Regions from separate parts of the Homo sapiens genome. Here region 1 is linked to region 2. The links are contacts of gene promoters, found by promoter capture Hi-C in blood cells and fetal thymus (Javierre and others, 2016). All regions are on one chromosome and are shown on one strand. The core of a region is centred on a gene start or on the middle of the fragment in contact, and the rest is flanking DNA. Distances in the headings are between cores, read along the strand shown. Region 1 overlaps TPD52-MRPS28 (TPD52-MRPS28 readthrough). Region 2 holds the start of ZNF704 (zinc finger protein 704).

What was found. The method cuts DNA at HindIII sites, captures the fragments that hold promoters and counts their contacts. A CHiCAGO score of 5 or more calls a contact.
Region 1: a fragment that was not itself captured here is called in contact with the fragment with the promoter of ZNF704 in region 2 in 1 of 17 cell types (fetal thymus); the score reaches 6.3 in fetal thymus.

The regions. Positions count from the first base shown.
Region 1 is chr8:80,073,960-80,079,002 of GRCh38, forward strand. The region is part of intron 1 of TPD52-MRPS28 (TPD52-MRPS28 readthrough); the gene reads right to left. The region is part of intron 1 of TPD52 (tumor protein D52); the gene reads right to left. Among named protein-coding and RNA genes, the nearest start is that of MRPS28, 46 kb to the left of the region's middle. The HindIII fragment of the contact is 2,383 bases long and covers 1,501-3,883 here.
Region 2 is chr8:80,873,075-80,878,157 of GRCh38, forward strand. ZNF704 (zinc finger protein 704) reads right to left here and starts at 1,707. Exons shown (of 9, transcript NM_001033723.3): 1 at 1,497-1,707. RefSeq lists a silencer at 386-586. The HindIII fragment of the contact is 1,917 bases long and covers 35-1,951 here.

The DNA.
Region 1 (5,043 bases), core at 1,442-3,941, 800 kb before region 2:
TATGTCAGCTGCCCCCAAAAAAATTCAACTAGGAGGGAAAAAGATGCCAAAATGGAGTCTAAGATATCTGCTATTTAGCCTGAATGTTAACACTGCCTACCCAAGAAAGAATCTGTTAACATATATTTGAGCCCTGGAAGCGTCTCTGGAAAATAAAGCTGCACAGGCCTTTCCTACACAAGTCTTCAAAGCAGGACCAATAACTTTAAGACCGGAGTCGCGGTAAGAAACTTCAGTATCTATGACTGTTTTATTTAAGCACAAACAAGAGGAAATATGCATCCCCCTTTTTAAACCTAGAGGCATAAAAAGAGATTTAAACATATAATTCAAAGTATCTTTAGTGGTAACATCCAGAAAGATCACAGGATGTTTTTTCCCCATGTTAAGTCTGTGCCTGGGGCTCCCATTCTCTGTGCCTTGTTGTTTCTGGATGTAATAAAATCCCAGAAGTGGGAGGAATATTTGCAAGTCCCCACACCACAATGGTTGTCTTCGGGAGACCCAAAAGATTAAGCATCCAGTTAAGGCAGCGCTTCTCAGGCACGGCACCACGGGCGTCATGCGGTGGATGACTGTGGCAGGGACTGCCCTGGGCATCTTCCTGTGTAGCATCTCAGGCCCACTCACCAGATGTCAGTAGCAGCCCCACACCCACACCCAGTTGTAACAACCAAAAGAGTATCTACAAACATGGTCAAATGCCCACAGTGGGGCAAAACTGTGGTTGAGAACCACTGACTTAAGGCGAGGGAGCATCTAAGAGGATGCTGTCTGCCACTGAGTGCCTTCAGAAGAGAGGGATGCAGCAGCTCAGGCCGTGACAACTTTAGATTCTTAAGGCTGGAATTTTCCCATGTGTGCCCATGGCAAGAACAGTAAAACCTTAGGGGGAAAACGAGTTGGGTAATTGTAGTCAAGGTAGCAGGGAAGAAAAAAACTGAGAAAACTTGATCCACTCCATTTAAGGGAAGACCCAAGCTCCTCACAAGCGTAAGGGGACAATGTCTGGGTTATTTTTTATTTTTTTTTATTTTTTGAGATGGAGTCTTGGTCTGTCACCAGGCTGGAGTGCAGTGGCGCGATCTTGGCTCACTACAATCTCTGCCTCCCAAGTTCAAGCAATTCTCCTGCCTCAGCCTCCCGAGTAGCTGGGACTACAGGCGCCCACCACCATACCTGGCTAATTTTTCGTATTTTAGTAGAGACAGGGTTCACCATGTTGGCCAGGATGGTCTCAATCTCCTGACCTCATGATCCGCCTGCCTCGGCCTCCCAAAGTGCTGGGATTACAGGCGTGAGCCACCACGCCTGGCCAATGTCTGGGTTATTAAAGAGTAAAGGAAACAGAGCAGGAGGGGAGGGGCTGCACTAAGACAAAAAGGGAAAGGAGCGCTTGGGAGCCACATCGGGTGCAAAGTGCTCCTGGGACTCAGCTCTGAAAGCAGGACCCTGAACAGTGGTCAATGTCCCCACCCAAGACAGAAGGTTACCTCCCAAAGCTTCACTTCACAGAAAGAGTGGACAAAGAAGAAACGATCCTCAAGGTAAAACACAGTATTTTCAAATGCTTTACTTGGTCCTTCCAGGTATTTCTAAATGGACCCTTAAATCTCTTTCATTTTTTTTTAAAAGAAAAAATCTTCAGTCAATTACTTCAGAGCCATCTCCTCTCCCCACTGCTCTGCTCCCCTGCCCCAAAATTGAGTATAAAACTAGTAACTGGGACATTCCAGAAAAGAGTGACAAAGGTCAGCCATGCAGAAATCTCAGAATCCCCAGAGAGGAAGTCTCTTCCATCCTTAAATTTCCTCTCTAGGAATAAGGAAATTCTACATCTCTTCAATTTGACTCCAGTTTTTATTTTGTAAACCACAGCCATGTTTGCTATTTAAGACTGATGCAATCATGAAAAACTTTTAAGAAGTGGTAACCACTTCTCTAAAAAGAAGTGAGAATGACACAGAGTGAAAATCAAAAAGGGTAAAACAGAATGAAAAGAACTATGAGCTAAGGAATTTCAGTTTGATTTTTCAGTCTTTCTAGAGTATCAAATATGATCGTGTTAAACTAAAATGTCAGATTTTTCCATTGCTCATAATTCCTTAAGTCAATAGAAATAACCAAAGGTGCCATAAGCCAAGTCTGCATCTTCCTGTACATTAGAAAATTCTCCCCAGCAATCCCATTACTGGGTATACACCCAAAGGAATATAAACCATTCTATCACAAAGACACATGCATGCGTAAGTTCATTGTAGCACTATTCACAATAGCAAAGGGTGGAATCAACCTAAATGCCCATCAATGATAGACTGAATAAAGAAAATGTGGTACATATATGCCATGGAACACTATGCAGCCATAAAAAAGAACAAGATCCTATCCTTTGCAAGAACATGGATGAGCTGGAGGCCATTATCCTTAGCAAACTAACACAGGAACAGAAAACCAAACAGGGCACCTTGTCACTTATAAGTGGGGGCAAAATGATGAGAACACATGGACACAAAGAGGGGAACAAATGACACTGGGGCCTACCAGAGGGTGGAGGGTGGGAGGAGGAAGAGGAGCAAAAAAAGGGAAAAAAAATCACTACTGTGTATCAGGTTTAGTATCTGGATGATGAAAGAATCTGTACATCAAACCCCTATGACACATGTTTACCCATATAAGAAGCCTGTACATGCACCCCTGAACCTCAAATAAAAGGGTTTTTTGTTTGTTTGTTTTGAGATGGAGTCTCATTCTGTCACCCAGGCTGGAGTGCAGTGGTGTGATCTCAGCTCACTGCAATCCCCTCCTGGGCTCAAGTAATCCTCCTACCTCAGCCTCCCAAGTAGCTGGGACCACAGACGTGTGCCACCATGCCCGATTAATTCTTTTACTTTTGGTAGAGATGGGGTTTCACCATGATGGCTGGTCACAAACTCATGAGCTCAAGTGATCTGCCCGCCTCAGACTCCCAAAGTGCTGGGATTACAGGCATGATCCACTGCGCCCAGCCAAAAGTTTTTTTTAAAAAAGAAAATTCTGGCCCGGCCCAGTGGCTCACGCCTGTAATCCCAGCACTTTGGGAGGCCGAGGCAGGCGGATCACGAGGTCAGGAGTTCAAGACCAGCCTCGCCAATATGGTGAAACCCCGTCTCTACTAAAAATACAAAAATTAGCACGATGTGGTGACGCGCACCTATAGTCCCAGGTATTTGGGAGGCTGAGGCAGAAGAATCGCTTAAACCCGGGAAGCAGAGGTTGCAGTGAGCCAAGGTTGCACCACTGCACTCCAGCCTGGGCGACAGAGCAAGACTCTGTCTCAAAAAAAAAAAAAAAAAATTCTTAAGAGGAAGATAGGTGCTATGTAAATAACATTTGGGATATTATCCTTAAGGGTGTTCACAGAATGGAAGAGATAATGCAACAAAAGACCCCAGCTGTGAGACCCTGGTCCTCATAATGTTCAGCCCAAAGATGGAATAGAATGTTGAGATCCAAGTGGCGTATAAAGTATCAACAAATTATTCCCACGGTAAAACACTTGACCAAAGGAGAACTTAAGCCTTGAATAGTTAATCTGTTCTATAATATCCATTACCAGAGAGGCTGAGATGTTGCGGTCTAAAAAAAACAAAAAACCAAACCACTAGCTTAAGAATTAAGAGATGAGTGCTAGTCCTATCTTAGCCTAACTAAACTTTGTGAGTTGAGAACATCACATATGTCTCTCAGCCTCAATCTTCACATCCGTAAAATGAACTGGAGTGTGAACGACTCCTTACCAGTGTCATTCATTCATTCATGCATTCCACAAAGTTTTTGAGCCATATAATGTCAAGCACTATTCTTGGTGCTTGGGGAAACAGAGGTGAACTAAAAAGACAAACAAAGCTTATGTTCCAGATTCTGAAACTATTATAAATTGGTGTTTTCACACTATGGGTTGTAAAATCCAGTTAGCAGAACCAGATGAGCACTTTAAAAGAAGAAATGGCATCAAATAGTATAAAATGTCAGAGTACATCACATATAGTAAGGAGAAGTTCTGGTTCATAAAATTTTGCTTCAGTTATTGATAGATTCTTATATTTGTGAGGATTGCAGGTAAGGAGGTATAAGGCATTTCTGAATATGGGTTGGTTGTGTCAAAGGAGTTTAAAACTCCCTAATAAAAGGCTTCATTTTGTTTCAGCCACTGTCCTCATCCTAACCTTCGCTTTAATTACTTCTTAGGAACATCCTGCCCATAGATAAAATCTCATTACTTTCCCGTTTGCCCCATGATGGCATTTTGGATAAATATCAGAGATATTTTTCACTCTTTTCAAATCAGTATTCCCAACCTCTCTGGGTAGGATTCCTTTTTATATCAGTCCTTCTTGTCTGTATTACTTGTCTGGTGATTAAGAAAATACATAGTGGCCAAAAGCCACAAGAACTTTTAATGGATTCATAATGTATTGGTCCTAAAAGCTTCTACGTAGAAATACAAAGAGTGCAAACACACGGAGGACACATTATTCATTCCATCGACCAACCATGTTTGATGTTCAGACAGGTGTGCAGACTTCTTATGCCCTGAGGGGTCATGGGCACAGAGATGAGTAATCACTCTTCCAGGCCCCCACTTTTATTTGGCCATTTTAAAATCACTGTGTTCTTACAGATGACTGCTGAGGGTGGTTTCTGCTTGTTTTAATGCTTGTTCACCCTCTTTTCTTTCAATTAATGCAAACTACTAAACCTAGCTACATGAGTTTGTTTTTCATTACTGTTATTCATTTGCTTTTTAATAATTTTTTAAATCTCACAACCCCAGGTTCCTTCGAACAGCTAACAGGAATTGTGAAGATAATCTTTCAGAATCTGCCTAGAGGTACACCCAACCCTACAACTGCCCTGGTTTTGACAGAAAACATCCCAAGGCAGCCATGACCATAACTTGGAAAATGAAAGGAGGTGAAACCAAGAGACAAGAAGGGTAGAAGGGAACTAAAAGAAGCAAGCAGTGTCAATCTTCCTGGGAATCTGGATGCTTGCACACCGATC
Region 2 (5,083 bases), core at 457-2,956:
GATTGACAAGAAACACCGCTTTCTGGTTTCAATAAGCTTGAATAGCCCTCAAAATAAGGAGAAGGGGACACTCCTTCCTTGGGGGAGAATAAAATCTCACTCTCCCCTGCCTCACCCGTCCCCACCGGGCACGAACCGGCGCCTCCGTGGTCCCATCACCCAAGTTCCCCACCTCACTGGGGAGAAGCGCCCTTTCCCGGCACCCACACCAAACAACAAACCCGACACGGCCTTTGAGGAAAGCGGGAGCCGCCGCCTGGGAGAGACGCAGGGGCCCAAGGCGCAGGCAAATCAACAGTTCCTCGCGCTGCCCCGCGCGGCCGCCCGCGCCGCCTGACACACCCCTCCTGGCCGGGTCTCTCCCCGGCGCCGCTGACCGTCCTCGGCCAGGCGCCTTGCCCCGGGGCCCGGGCCCGTCCCCCTCCCCGGGCTGGCGGGTCCCACGCGCGCCACCGCGCCCAACACGCACCTTCAACGCGCCCCGGGCCGGGCCCCTGGGGACTGCGTGGCCGGGTCCGAGGGGCACGAAACGCTCCTCGCCGTCCTCGTCGTCTTCGTCGCCGTCCACCACCTCGACGACCACCTCCTCGTCCTCCTCTTCCTCGTCGTCATCCTCCTCCTCCGCGCCCCCTCGGGGCTTCTCCTCCACACGCCCGAGCCCCCTCCGCCGCCTGCTCCCGCCCTCCTCGTCCTCGTCTTCCTCCCCTAGAAGCAGCAGCACCGGCGACGAGGCGGCGGCGGCGGCCCCGGTGGCCCGAGGGGGGCCGGTCCCGGCGCTGCGCGGCGGCGGCGGCAGCGGCGGCCTCCAGCTCTCCGGGGCGGGCGCCGGGGCCGGGCCCGGGACAGGGGGCGGGAGCCCGGGTAGGGCGGCTTCCTTGGCGGGCGCGGGCGCCGGCCCGGCAGGCTGCAGCGCGGCGCCCCCCCGGCGGCTGCCCAGGCTGGAGCGCTTGGCTAGACGCCGCGCCTGCATGCCTGAGCGCGGGGTTGCGGGCCGCGGCGCGGGGCCGGAGAGTTTGTCACCTCCTCTTCCTCCTCTGCCTCCGCCGGTGGCCGCAGGGCCGGGGACTCGCGGCCGCAAGGGGCTGCAGGAGCCGCCGGCCAGGACCCGCGGCTGCCACTGGCTGCAGAGGCGCGGGCGCCGCCTTCGCTGGACCGGCCGGCGGGGACGCCGGCGGCCGGCGGCTACGGCGGGGCGGCGCGGCGGCCGCGGGCGGGGGTGGGTGTGAGCGAGCGGCGCGCTGCCGCCTCCGCCGCCGCCGCCGCCGCCCGGGAGCCGCGGGCCGCGCTGCGCTCCATGCGGCCGGCGGCCGAGCCCGCGCGCGCCTCTCCCGGCCGGCTGCGCCCGCGCGCTCCGGGCCTACCGCTGCCGTGCCTCGGCGCGAGCTGTTTGTGTTGTATGTTTTCCACCACCGCCCCCCTCTTCGCGAGCCATTCCTCACAACCCTCCGGTCCCCCCGCTCAGACAAAACCCGGACTGGATTTTTTTTTTCTCTTACCCACAGTCTCCGAAAGTCTGGCGCTTCGAAGCAGTTGGCCCTGACACCAGGGCAAACGCTTAACCGCAGCCCATTCTTCCCTCCGGAGGGAGGGGAGTAGACTTCGCTGGAAGTAAGGTTGTCTGTCAAAGTTAGACTTTGAACGTAGAGATTTGCTACAAGTCATTTTAATGGACACTGATGTGCATGGCAGCTACTCCTGAGCTTGTGTGAAATCAAGGAAGGTGTACCAATCTGAGGTTTGGGATGAATTCCTAATATGAATCATCAGAGTCGCTTAGATTTTCGAAACACTGTTTCATGAGCGATTGTCTACCAATCTCACACTCTTTGAACGCACCACTCTAGGCCCTGCGATTGAGCTGCCTTGGCTCTGTGCTGAGTGTGTAGGTCTTTCAGCTTTTACTCCTGCTATTCTACCTTGAGTGCCTGATTTTAATGGCTGAATTCCAAGAAGCTTTCTGTTTGCACTGTCTGATCTGTAGACTCTCTTCTGGCATTGTTCAGGACTTTGAAGAAACAAATGGGTGGGAGTTCAAGATCGTTTGAGTTGGTTACTTAAGAAATTAATATGAAGTAAGACCAAATCTGGAAATCAAGCACATAACATGACTAATTTTGCCATTTTCTGACGATTTTTAGGTGTGATAAAGAAAATATATTTGCTATTGCGTGGGGTTAGGCTATGTAGTAAGTGGTATTTCTTCTTTTATTTATTTTAATTTTTATTTATATATATTTCTTTATTTTTCAGATGGAGTTTCGCTCTTGTTGCCAAGGCTGGAGTGCAATGTCATGGTCTGGGCTCACTGTAACCTCCGCCACCTGGGTTCAAGCGATTCTCCTGCCTCAGCCTCCTGAGTACCTGGGATTAAAGGCGCGCTCCACCATGCCATGCTAATTTTGTATTTTTCGTAGAGACAGGGTTTCACCATGTTGGCCAGGCTGGTCTCAAACTCCTGACCTCAGATGATTTGCCTGCCTTGGCCTCCCAAAGTGCTGGGATTACAGGTGTGAGCCACCGTGCCCGGCCTTAAGTCGTATTTCTTACATTCAAATCATACCCCCAATTCCATCCCTGTAGAGGAGGGCTGGGGAGGATCTTACGCATCAAATACCCTGGTAGGCACCTCCGTGGGGCCAGAATAAAAGGTGTATTCACCTTCAGTTAATTATTGTTGGACATTTAACATCATATGCTCTGTTAGACACTTGAATGGGGCTCATTAAATGCTCACTTATGGTGGCTTCCAACTGTTGAACAGGGATGATGACAAAGATTCTAAAATGAACTTTTTGTTCTCCCTGAATCAGATTAGCTTCCTGATGTACCTATTTCAGGTGATGAAACTCTCATTATAATCATTTGAGCCCAAAATAGCGGTATCATTTTAACTCCCTTCTCTACCTTATCCCTAGAGGCAATTGCCCACAAGTCCAACCCATTGTTCTTTCTAAAATGCATTTTGAATCCACCCCTTCCTTTCCATTCCCAAAGCTCTTACAGCATTTTGTGACTTCAAAAGTGGAAGTTTCTAACAGTTCTACACACCCATTTTCTCACCCACACACCCTCCCTTTCCCTCCTCAGATGCCACCACCAGATTTATGTTTCCGAAACCCCATTTAGATCACACCATTTTCTTGTTGGACTTTATATTTGTAAATATTCTGTTCAGGAATTCAGAGAGAAGAAAACAGAACATTAAGAGATGGGTGTGTCTGATCAAAGCATGGAATAGCAGGGGCTAGCCAATAAGTGAATAATCAGTATCAGCTAGAGTGTGCAAAGAATTAAGAAAGAACATTAAGGTGGTTTCATCCCAATTGGAAGAAATTTAGCTTCGTTGATTTGGGAGATGATTTTAGAGTGAGGCAGCAGGATCTTTCTCTGGCCATGAAAAGGAAAGATCGGGGCAAGGGGTGGGCAGACAGGTATGGAGGAGGTGGAGGAGGACAAAGGTGTGAGGCAAGCTGGCTAGTAGTTAGGCACATGGTCTCAGGAGCACCTAGGTCCGAATCCTGACTCTGGAACTTACCAGCTTTACTTTTACTCATCCTCTTTCTGTGCCTGTTTCCTCATCTGTGAAATGGGGATCATAGTAGTAAAGTTGTTTTGCAGAGTAATGAGTGAATAAATGCAATCAGCTTACAAGAGTGCCTGGGACAAGCTAGGGTTTATATGCGGGCTTATCATACTAAACATTGTAATGGTAGGTAAACAAGGTGGCTTGGGATACTCTCAGAGAATAACAAGGTAGCTCTCTTTTAAGTAAGCTCAGTAATGTCAGTAACTAGCAAAATGTGCTTTTAAAGACCAACAACTTGTCATCGGAGGACCATGGTCAGGCCAAGCATGTAGCTTTTTGTGCCTAAAATTGCTATAGATGAAAGAAAGTAAATGTTTTCCTGAGAACCTAGAGGAAATACAGAGTTAAATGAATTGGTGATTGGCATTTGTGACTTAGTGAAAGATGATACACTATTGTACATTCTTTTAAAATTGCTGTATATGCTTTGAAATCAGCTTATTGTTTCTCTTAGGCCACTTCAATAGACTTCATAGACATCCATTCCCTGGCCCCACATTGCTGGAAAGGCTGCCTCTGAATGGGAAAAAAAAAAAAAAAAAAAAAAAAAAAAGACCTGGCCTTGGCTTTCAAACCATTAAATGAAGGCTAATGTCAAAAAAGAGGTTTCACCCAAGCTGGGCTTTGAGGGATGAGAAGGATCTGTTCAGGCAGGGAGAGCAGCATTGTCTAGGCAAGTGCAGGCCACTGAAGACCACCCTCATTAAATCAGAGGACACTTAGTGGGAATAAAATCAAATTAACTCATCAGGAATCAAGAAAAGATCTCATGATGTGGGCACATGACACACTACATGCATGACATGGGCTCAGAAGTCAAAAAGTATCTTGTGATGCCAAGCAAGTGGGGAAGAGTCATTGCTGCTTCTTTCCCCCACATTCCCTAAGTGTAACACATTTTTTTCTTCCAAAACTGGGAGCGCTTGCCACTCAGAATGAGGAAATGTGCCTCTGAGCCATGGGATAAAGAAGGAGCCCCTCCAGAACAGTTGGATTGAACACATCCTCATCTAAAACATTTCATCGTTCATTCTGCATGGATTTGTTGAGTCCTGACAAGTGCCAGGTCTTGTTCTTGGTGCTGGCGTGCAGCAGCGAACAAAATAACCCTCCCTCGGGGAGGAAGCAGACAATAATCAAAGAAGATAAGTGAACAATATGATTTTGTGGAGGCATTAAGTGTCTACATGAAAAAGTAAGGGAAAAATAAAAGGAGGGGTAGAAGGTGCTGGAGGTTTAGTATAAAGAAATGTGCATTTCAAAGCGTATTTCTTTATATTAAAACAGACATAAGAATAGTGTGAAGTTTAGTGTGAACTTTGAATGAAAACTCGCAGCCCTGGACTCTGTCTTCTTCCTGCAGATAGAATCCATTCTCCCCTACTGTCCGCGTGCTTTGGTCAAAGTTTGAGAAGCACTGCTGCGGAAGAACGAGAGTAGGCTTTGGAGTGAGCATCACTCCCTAAACACATAGTAGCTGGCTGGCTCCTGTCTGGT